Regions from separate parts of the Homo sapiens genome. Here region 2 is linked to region 1. The links are contacts of gene promoters, found by promoter capture Hi-C in human tissues and cell types (Jung and others, 2019). All regions are on one chromosome and are shown on one strand. Each heading gives the region's core, a stretch centred on a gene start or on the middle of the fragment in contact. The rest is flanking DNA. Distances are from core to core; before and after follow the strand shown.

Region 1 (5,548 bases), core at 776-3,275:
AAGCAATTTAGCAACAAAGTAAAGGCCAGAGTTGGGATGGTAGCTGATAGATTTGAAGGGAACTTTGGGCTACTGGAGGATGAGATCTATGATGAAAATGCTGGAAAATCAACCATTTGCTTAAAAAGGTAAAGGCATTTGGGTTGTTTATCCTAGAAAAGACCGGATTGGAAGGAAGTATAGTTAAACTCAACTGTTTTATTTTGCAACAGGGAAGAATCTGATTGTGCCCAAGGAAGAGCTTCCTAACTGTGACAAAGGAGGTAAAGGAGGTGGTGACATGCCCATCCCTGGGAAATTTTAAACTCAGCTGGCCAGCAAATGGCTCCAGCATGGCCTGGTCTGGGAGTAGGAGACTGAAAGAAATGACCTCCAGCTGTCCCTCTCATGACCAAGGACCTCTGGCTTGTCGTGAGTGTTCTGGCCAGCTGCACAGCACGGATTAATGGGCCAAAGGGAGCCGCTCTCTGATCTGCGCTAAGCTTTTCAGGTTCTGTGGCCACCGCCATCAGCCACAGATTTAATGAGATCCGAGGCTTAATTACCACAGTGCAGGGCTGCCAGCACTCTCTCCTGATGACTTTATCTTGGCTCCTGGAAGGATGGGGGTGACAACAGTGTGTCGGCAGGAGAGGAGAGCCTAAAGCAGGGACTCTGGACCCTGGTGTTTCGGGGGGATGTGGGCTGCAAGAGTAGGGTGGAGGGGGCGACTGCAGGACTCAGTACCTGACCTCAAAGAGCTCACAATGTGTCAAGAGTTAAGACCTCTAATACAGGAGATACCCAAGGCAGTGTGAGTCGACTCACATGTGCGAGGCACACACAGATGTCGGCGGAAACTTTGGAGGCATGAACAAAGCTCCCAGAGGAGGGGCGCTGAAGGGTGGGGGGTGGGGCGTGGGGGAGTGCAGGTTGGAGAAGACCTTGAATGTCAGGCTAAGCAGTTGGGACTTCACTTCATAGGTAGTAGAGGGCCGTTGAACGTTTTTGAGCTGCCTGAACGATCCAAATTTCCTATAGAAGTTTACAGAACTCCTGAGGATGGGCTCTGCCTAACGCCCACTCCCCCGAGAATACTCTCCTTCCATCCCTCACACTTAGCTGCAGCCAGCACTGAACTTAATGCCATACTCTGAAACGTCCTTCACAGTCTCTGTACTCCTGGCTACGTTCTTTCCTTATATCGGGTCTCAATGTTAACAAACATCACTCCCTCTAAAAAGCCTTGCGGACACCGCCCTTTTCCCCCAAGCCTGGCCAGAGGCCCCTTTTCAAGGCTCCCACGCTTGCTGTGTCTCCCCATGAGATCACGGCTCTGTGCTGTCATTATTCATTTGTCTGAATTCTCTGCTAGACTGTGATTCTGTTGAGGCTAGGAGCGGTATCTTGTCCATCAGTGTCGCTAAGAACCAGCATTAGACAGTAATGTGGGATGGATGCGGCCCAGCAGATTACTCGGGTTCCTCCCCTTTCTCTGCCAGGGAGTCTTTTGAGGACAATGGAAAATCACAGGTGTCAACAGATGCAGGCTGGTAGGGAATGTCCCCTTAATTTGAATGATCAGTCTATTATTCTTACAGGAAGCAAAGTGTGCAGAAGACACAAAACAAACTCCAACCTCCTCCCACCTCCTTGAGAATAAAGCGAAGCGGGGACCATTTCTAGGCACGCCTGAGGACTATTTGAGGAGGGTGAGGCGGAGGGTTACGCACGGGACTAAGGCAAAACCCTCCGCTCGAGAGCAGAAATCGCGGCGGCACCTCTTCAGGCCACCAGGGGGAGGAATCACACCGCATCCCAGGCCTTGGGCGGTTTCGCACGACCACGCGGGGCTGGACGGTCGCGTAGAACTCTGGGAGGTGTAGTTTTAGAGTTGTAATGCGCAATCTCGCGCACTGTACATCGGGAATTGTAGTTCTAGATTGAGGAACGAGAAGTGCTTCCAAGCGTCCATTTTGAGCCTTGGAAACTACGACGACCAAAGGGCCACGGGTTCATGGGTCGTTTCTCATTTCCGTCGAGTTAAACGTCTGGGGCTGCTTCTGAGGAATCAGCTTGACTGGGTAAGTTTGATTGGAGAAAACACCTATATCTCAATTGAGCTTCCTGCAGACTTTTGTATTCTGGCCCGGTTTGGGGCCTCGGCGTCTCTCAGTCATAGGAATTGCACATTAATCTTCGTCCTTTACGTTTCCTATTCAGACACCTGTAGCCACCCGCTCCCTTGACCCTCCCACGGTCGCCTCGCACTTTTAACGGCCAGTGCCCCTGGAATCCCCACTGAGCTCCCGTCCCAGGACCCAGCCCCCGCAGCCCCACCTTGGACCCCACAGCCCTACCCTGATTCCTCGGCCCTACCTTCACCCTGCAGCCTCACATCCCTGAACCCCGGGCTTCTTTATGCTCCTCCACCCTTTGTGTACTTTACTCTTACTCTCAGTTTTCTGTTTTTCATGGCGGTGGAAGAAGGGTCCCCATTCCTTCTTTCCGATCCGCGATTACCCTGGACTCGAAGTCAGCAGACCCGGTTCTAGGCCAGCTCTGCCTCTCACCCTCTGTGACCTTGGGCAAATCATACAACTCTGGGACTCAGTTTCTTCCTCTCTAAAACGGAGATGACTGTTGCTCCATCAGTCTCAGGTGAGGAGTGTTGAGGAGCCAACAAGCTAGTATGTGTGAAGATGCCTTGTAAACTGTAAGACCTTCACAAGAGACAGAGATTATTTTTATCACAATTATTAATGCTCTGGAACACTCTTATCAGGCCTCTTCTCTAGCTCTGCCACCTTGTTGCTCAATCTCATCCCTCGAGTGCTTGGTGTCTTCATTGTCTACGAGCTGGATGATATTTCCTCACTTCCTCCAGAGACCAAAGGTCAGGCCAATGAGCTTTTAGTCTTCAGAGAGCTTTGTCTGAAAGGAAGCACAAGAGAAGTGCTTATCTTGGACTGTATCTTGAAATAGCCAGTGATGAAAGTGTCACACAGCTGGCAGAGCAGCAGTCCTCTGCTCACCAGAAACAGGGTCCCAGCAGGAGAGGACAGCTGCAACCTAAGCCCCATCCATTCCCTCTGGGCTCCTCTGGGCCTGTTCAGTAGACACTGGCTTTGGTAGGGGTGTCTGAGGCCTGAAAAGGCTGCTGGGAAAGAATCTGTTTTGCCAAAGGGCTTAATCCAGGAAAAATGAGAGACCTTGGCTAGGAAAGAGAGACATAGCATTGTTAATTAGTTCCTAACATTTTATAAGCACTGAAAATGCACCAGGCCCTAGGCAATATTTTCACTTACGAAGTATCCATTTTACGTATAAGGAACTTGAGAGGCATGTAGTTAAAATAATTATAGTTGCCTCCTATGGTTATAGTACCTTCTATCCATCGAGTGCTTTACATGCATTATTTAATCCTCATCAACAATCTCGTGAGTAGTTACTATTTCTTTTTTTTTGAGATGGAGTCTCGCTCTGTCGCCCAGGCTAGAGTGCAGTAGCGCGATCTCGGCTCACTGCAAGCTCCGCCTCCCGGGTTCACGCCATTCTCCTGCTTCAGCCTCCCAAGTAGCTGGGACTACAGGCGCCCGCCACCAGGCCCAGCTAATATTTTGTATTTTTTTTAGTACAGACAGGGTTTCACCGTGTTAGCCAGGATGGTCTCGATCTCCTGACCTCCTGATCCGCCCGCCTCGGCCTCCCACCGCGCCCGGCCCATAGTTACTATTTCTTTTTGAGACAAGACCTCGCTCTGTCACCCAGGCCGAAGTGCAGTGGCACAATCTTGGTTCACTGTGGCCTCCGGCTCCCAAGCCCCAGCAATCCTCCTACCTCAGCCTCCTGAGTAACTGGGACTGCAGTTGCATACCACCACATCCAGCTAATTTTTTTTTTTTTTAATTTTTTTATAGAGACAGGATTTTGCCATGTTGCCCAGGCTGGTCTTGAACTCCTGGGCTGAAGCAATCCTTCCCATTTGATCTCCCAAAGTTCTGGGATTATAGGCATGAGCCACTGCGTCTGGCCATAGTTATTATTTCTGTTGTGAGAATAAATTATCAGAAGCTTAGAGTTTGAGGAACTTGTTCAAGATCACACAGCTAATAAGTGACAGGGGTAGAATTCAGAGTCATCAAAACCTTTGTCCCCCATTATTTCATATAGCCTTATTTTTAGATCAAAAACAAAGATTAAAGAAGACTTGAGATGGGTTTAAATCATAGCCAAATGAAGGAACATTTATTGAGTCCCAACTATATGGGGAAAGCATGCAGATAGACAGTTTGGTCTACAAAAAAATATAAAACCCAATCTTTACCCCCGGAGTAGATCTGAAGAGATGAGGCATAAGTGTGCCAAAAATTAAATAGTATTCATTGGATAAATTAATTATTGAGACCAGCTATATGCAGGGCACTACATTAAGTCTAGTGATAGGAACATGCTTCTGGGTGGCCATGGGGATTATAGCAAGTGAAATCGTAGTCGTGAAAATGTGGACCAGAACACAGTATATACTCAGTAAGCGTCTGCTGCATGCATACGTGTCTGAATGAAAGAAAAGTTCATCCAGAGACATTTCTAATCAAAGTCTAGACCAGAGGTTCTCAAACTTTGCTGATCAGAAACACCTGGGAAGCTTTTACAAACGAATTGATCACTAGAAATAGGGGCCCCCAGAATATACATTTTTGAAAAGCTTCCCAGGTGATTGTGACAATAGGTTCAGGAACCTAAGATCTAGATTCTCTATGGACCACTGTTGCAGGCAAGTCACTGGTTGAAAACTGCTAGAATAGGTGTTAATCCAAGAGCTGCCCTAAAGTAGTCTAAGATTGGTTACCAGATAATGGATGTGGACAGTGATCAGAGATGATAGGAGGAAAGGTTGGAAGGACCTGGGAAAGCTTCACAGAGGACTAGAGATTTCACTGGGCCTCAGTGGATGGAGAGGCTTCTGGACAGGTACTACCATGAACTATTTAGACAAAGTGAGCAAAAGAAGGTAGAGACACATAGACTGATTTCCTTGGAAAATTCCATGACTTTTATTAGAAATGACTCTGGATGCTTTGTGTAAATGTCTCTTTGGCAAAATTTGCAACTCAGATTGGATTTTTCCATCTCTCCATCCTATTTGGACATCAGTCAATGTGAGTCCAGGAAATAAAGATTCATTTGCGTGTTAGCTTCACTCTGGCCAATTAGCTTCTGTAATTTTTATTTCCAAACAATTTAGTTGATGATCTTCCCAGAAACTTTCCAGGAGCACCAGAGAGTTCTGCTGTCTTCTGTTTGGCCATTTCCAAGTCCGCTTATCCTGATTCCTATCCCAAGTGCTGTTCTCTATGCAGAGTGAGACAAAAATCTGTTCCCATAAGAAGCTTAAGGACTATTGTCCTGGTTCCCCAATCTTAAAACCTGACTTATTGGCTCTTGACTCCCCAGATTCACTCAGTGGCCAAACCCTAGTGTTTCTACTTTTCACTCAATCAGCACATTTCTTGGATGCTTCCTAAGAGTCAGGTACCACACCAGATGCTTTGAATGCATTATTTCA
Region 2 (5,548 bases), core at 1,338-3,837, 570 kb after region 1:
TTCAAAGATCTCCCAGTGCCTGGAAGAGAAAACCCATTCTGTTTCGAAGGGCATCCAGAGCTGGTCACAGTGGGGACCCACCCTCCTTTTCCAGGCTACGCCAGGCAAGCAAACCGTTTTTCTCACTATCCTTAAATCCACTGCAACCGATCTTTCCCCCTTCCTGCCTCTGCCCCAACACAGTATCTCTGTCAGTGCCGCTTCTGGTGTGTGGTTTCTTAGGCAAGGCTTATCCATCCACTTAGGCAAAAAGCTTCTTGGAGATCAAATCTATACCCTGCAGAGATACAGTTAAGAAAAATGGCCAAAGTACTTGCTTTTTCAGAGTAGGGCTGAAATTCTAGCTTGGCCACTTACTAGCTTGGACAAGTTACTAAATCTCTCACAGTCTGTTTCCACTCAGGTTTGTTTTAAGGCTTGGAGGACAATGAGCCTTCAGAGCCAGACAAGCAGTAGGTAACAGAAAGTAACTGCTGTTAGCAGTATACTTGTTTCTCATGCCTTAATTCTACTTCAGTATATTGATCAAGTGGCACCGGGTGGCCAAGAAAACAAACTCTGTGAGCTCAAAGTTTCACCAAGGCCTGCCCATCATTGAGAAAGGATATGAACAGAATGCTATGTGTGGAGCAGTAGAAAAAAGCCTTCAGCTGCCAAGGCAGATTGGTTCACTGAGGAAGATACAGGTGGGAACCAAATCAAAATGGAAGCTTAAAGGCGTTGGGGAGCGCAGGAACAGGTACATGGTAAAGTCCGGGCTCCAGCCTCCATGGGAACCCCAGACTTGAATATCCCTCATCCCCATGACTGCAGTGTTCCAGATTACCTGGGCCAGAGACTAAGTGGGATGGTTAGATGAGTAAGCCAAAGAAAAGATGAGAGGCACTGGGGACACATGCCAGCTTTCTGAGGCTCACTGTCTAGCCTACTATTAAATAGACCCTGACAGGGCATCTCATGCTGTGGCAAAAGTGCGGAGTGGCTGGGAGCAATGGAGGTTGTGGCTGAGAGTTACTGTTGAGCTCTAGGACTATGTGGAAGCAGAGAAAGGGCAGAGAAAATCTGAGGGTGATGGCTGACAAACAATCTGAAGGTCTGGAGGTCTAAGTTCCAATCCCAATTCACATGGCAACTCACTAGTGTCCTTGGTTGAGTCACCAGCCCACCCTGTGCCAAGATCTCCTCTGGAGGTGGTGCTTCTAGTTCTATGTTTAGAAGCAGATTGTGCTAGCTCCATTTTACAAATGAGAAAACTGAGGCTGAGAGGAAACAAGGTCACATAATAGGTGTGGTAGAGCAATCTAGCTCAAAGCACAAGCTGAGCAAGCTGTGGTGCCTGTATATAGCTATTGATGGGTAGAGTTGGGGTGAGATGATGGGAATGGCCTTCTTGCCAAGACCCAAGGAGAGGCCAGAGCAGGACTGCCCATCTCCATACTCTTCCTCTTTCACTCCTCCAGACCCAGCTCTTTTTTCCATGACCCACTCTAGCACAAGCCCTTTTGGCTCCAGCCAAGTGCCAGCCTTTTTCCTCTGAGTCCTGAAATGGCCCTTTGGGATTCTAAGGGCACAGAAGTGGGCCTCCTGCCAGAAGGCCCCAGCTCCCCACACCTTCACCAGTCAGGAAGCAGAGATCAGCAGTGGCCATTTTACAAATGAGTGAAACAAGGAAGGGAAGTAATTTGCCCTCATTCAAAAGACCAAGGCCTACAGAGGAATTTAGGCTTGTCCCTCCTTCTGGGACTTTCTGATGAAGGGATTTGCACTTGGGCTTCAGCTGAGCCCAGAACAGCTCTAGAGGCCAGATCATTAAACCCTGTTTCACATATAAGGAAATGGTATTCCCACCTCTGTCAGCCCGTTCAATCCCCGCAAGCCCACTAGCTGTCTTGAGCTTTGTTCCTGCCCTGTAAGAATCACAGAAAAGTCCAAACATTTCGATGGCCACCTCTTAACACATGTACCTGTATCCCCTAGAGAAACCTATTTTTTTTTTTTTTGAGATGGAGTCTTGCTCTGTCACCCAGGCTGGAGTGCAGTGGTGCATTCTCAGCTCACTGCAATCTCTGCCTCCTGGGTTCAAGTGATTCTCCTGCCTCAGCCTCCAGAGTAGCTGAGACTATAGGCACACGCCACCACGCCTGGATAATTTTTGTGTTTTTAGTAGAAATGGGGTTTTGCCATGTTAGCCAGGCTGGTCTCAAACTCCTGACCTTAGGTGATCCACCTGCCTTGGCCTCCCAAAGTGCTGGGGTTACAGGCGTGAGACACCACACCAGGCCAGAACCATGTTAATGGAAGATGTTCACTGTAGTGTTTAGAACAGGGCTAGTTTGGGAGAGGACTGACCAAACACTTTATCACATATCCTTACCATGGAAGTCAGTGTGGCATGGAGGATGATTATACACAGCACTAACTATGGCAGCCGCCACTCCAAGTATCAGATACATTTTGTTTTAATCCTCACAACAATCCTATGAGATAGAGATTACTAGCACCATATTACAGATGAGGACACTGTGGCACAGAGGAGTTAAGGCACTTGCCTAAGGTCACATAGTAACAGAGTTGGGAATTCAAATCCAGGCAGTCTGCTTTCAGTGCCTGGGCTCTTTAACCACCATGTTATATTGTTGTAGAAAGATTTTCCTGGCTTGGAAACTGCTTATGATATAGAGTTCATGAAAATAGCAAGTTACCAAACAGTATGTGCTGTGTAATCCCATTTTTGTAGGGAGAAAAACAAGGCCTAAATCGACAGGAATAGAAAAACATCTGAAAGGATATACACTCAAAACATAGTGCTGGTTTTTGGAGAGACTGAAATGGACATTTTATGTTAGCTTTATGCATCTGTATTTTCAAAGTTTCTACAGTAAACTTGCCAAGCTTGTGTGATAATCATAATTGCTAACATTTATGGAGTGTTTTCTACACATCTGACACTTTATGCACTGCCTCGTTGAATCTTCACAACAACCCAGTGAGATTGACACTGATTTTCTGCCTTTCCAGATGAGGAAACAGGCACAGAGACACTGACTGTTTTACCCAAGGTCACACAGCTCATTCCAAAGCCAGAATTTGAACCAGGTTGCCTAACTCCAAAGCTCATGTGTGTTAAATCAATGAACGACTGACTTAGCTGCACTTTAGCCAAACGTGCCCAGAGCAAGGTCACACCCTTGGCGTGGACACATTTCCAGGGAGGGACCGGAGGACCTCCTACCTCATTGGTCACTGCCAGTGACTGAGCTTGACTCAGGTAGGAGGGCATGGCAGGTATTCTCAGGGAGTCTGGTGTTTACAGAAAAGTCATGATTACACGTGAAAGCTGTGGGCTCCCTGGCTTGATTCACCACACCTGCAGGAAGCCTGGCTGCTCAGACCAGCACGCCGTGGACATAGCACCACTTGCTCAGCTTCATTTCCGTAACTCAGGCTGCCAGGCCTGCTGACAAATTTTCACGTTTGTAATAACCCTGTGAGGAGACCAGAGTACATCTTACTTGACTCATAAGGAAATTGAGACTGGGTGATTTAGTAACTTGGGAGGCAGAATTGCAAAGTGATTAGCAACACAAGCCATGGTGTCAGATGGATCTGGGTTAGGTCCCACCTCTGCCGTTTATTAGCTGTGTGGCTTTGGGTACTCACGCCACCTCTCTGAGCAGCAGTTTCCTCTTTTGTAAGCGTAATGATGCCTACACTCACAGGCTTGAGAGGAAGATCCGATGAAATAGCATATGCAAAATGATTGGTTCCGTGCTTGGCATTCCAGAAATGGTAGCTGTTATTCAGCCAACAAATATTTATTGAGCACCTACTATGGACTTCCCTGGTGCTGAGGATACAACAGCAACCACAGCAGTCAAAAGTCCCTGTCTTTATGTTGCTCAGATTCTCATAGGGGAAAGCAGATAATGAACAAATACACGGCCAGACGCAGTGGCTCACGCCTGTAATCCCAGTACTTTGCGAGGCCAAGGTGGGCAAGTCACCTGAGGTCAGGAGTTCGAGACCAGCCTAGCCAACATGGTGAAACCCTGTCACTACTAAAAATACAAAAATTAGCGCAGTGTGGTGGCTCATGCCTGTAGTCCCAGCTACTTGGGAGGCTGAGGAAGGAGAATCGCTTGAACCTAAAAGGCAGAAGTTGCAATGAGCCAAGATCGTGCCACTGCATTCCAGCCTGGGTGACAGAGTACTCCATCTAAAAAAAAAACCTAAATACACAAGTAAAAATATAGACTTCGTCAGATGCTAGTAAGTGCTGTGAAGGAAACTAAAAGGGGAACACAAGGAACCCTTGTCAAGGGGAGCAGAAAGGGGAGTTGATGCTGTCCTTTTAAATAGGGCAATCAGAGGCCAGGCACAGTGGCTCACACTTATAATCCCAGCACTTTGGGAGTTCGAGGCAGGTGGATCACTTGAGGTCAGGAGTTCAAGACCAGCCAGGCCAATGTGGTGAAACCCTGTCTCTACTAAAACTACAAAAACTAGCCAGGTGTGGTATCGCGTGCCTATAATCCCAGCTACTCGGGAGGCTGAGGCGGGAGAATCGCTTGAACCTGGGAGGCGGAGGTTGCAGTGAGCCGAGATTGTGCCATTGCAGTCCAGCCTGGGCAACAAGAGCAAAACTTCATCTAAAAAAAAAACACAGCAAAAAAGGGCAGTCAGGGAAAACTTCCCTGAGAAGGGGATGGTGGAGTACAGATCCAGGGAGGTGAGGTGGGGAGCAAGCCAGTACAGTTGTTCCTTGACTTTCGATGAGGTTATGTCCTGATAAAGCCATGGTAAGTAGGAAATATTGTAAGTCAAAAATGCATTTAATACACCTAACCTACGGAACATCATAGCTTAGTGTCACCTACCTTAAACATGCTTAGAACGCTTACATTAGCCTACGGTTGGGCAAAATCATCTAACACAAAGCCTATTTTATGATAAAGTATTGAATATCTCATGTAATGTACTGAGTACTGTACGGAAAGTGAAAGACGGAGTGGTGGGATGGGAACTCTAAGCACGGCTTCCACTGCATGTGTGTTGCTTTCGCGCCATCATAAAGTTGAAAAGCGTTAAGTCAAACCACCGTACGTCGGAGGCCATCTGTATCTGGTAGGAGGAGTGTTTCAGACAGAGAGAACAGCAGGTGCAATAGAGTGCTTTTTTCCCAGCATTTTATTATGAAAAATTTCAAACATCTACCAAAAAAAGTTGAAAGACTTGTACGGTGAAAAGCCATACATCTCACAGCTAGAATCAACAATTAACATTTTACTGTATTTGGTTTTTGACTTATCTATCCTAGATCCCTTGTGCTTTCTGTAGCAGGTGACCTGCCTTGAAGATTTAAAGACAGAATATCGGGAAATGTAGTCAGAAAATGGGGCCTTTTATAAGAGTCAGAGGGGAAGAGCAAAAACTCTGCTTTCGAGAAATCTGTCGGGAGAGGCCAACTGCAGGGATACCTCCCTTTTTTAATGAAAGCATTTCTGTTCTGCGAGGAGCGGGATCCTCTTGTCAAGCAGTCAGTCCCTGC

What was found. Contacts are between HindIII fragments. The study calls those that stand out against the background at their distance.
Region 2: a fragment that was not itself captured here is called in contact with the fragment with the promoter of PAFAH2 in region 1 in 1 of the 25 tissues and cell types used here (aorta).

What each region holds. Positions count from the first base shown.
Region 1 is chr1:25,994,540-26,000,087 of GRCh38, reverse strand. It overlaps PAFAH2 (platelet activating factor acetylhydrolase 2), which reads left to right and starts at 2,025. Exons shown (of 11, transcript NM_000437.4): 1 at 2,025-2,063. RefSeq lists enhancers at 1,880-1,929, 1,940-2,029, 2,200-2,279. The HindIII fragment of the contact is 6,472 bases long and covers 1-4,340 here.
Region 2 is chr1:25,423,509-25,429,056 of GRCh38, reverse strand. It overlaps a transcript of RHCE not described here. Among named protein-coding and RNA genes, the nearest start is that of MACO1, 4.6 kb to the left of the region's middle. The HindIII fragment of the contact is 4,210 bases long and covers 483-4,692 here.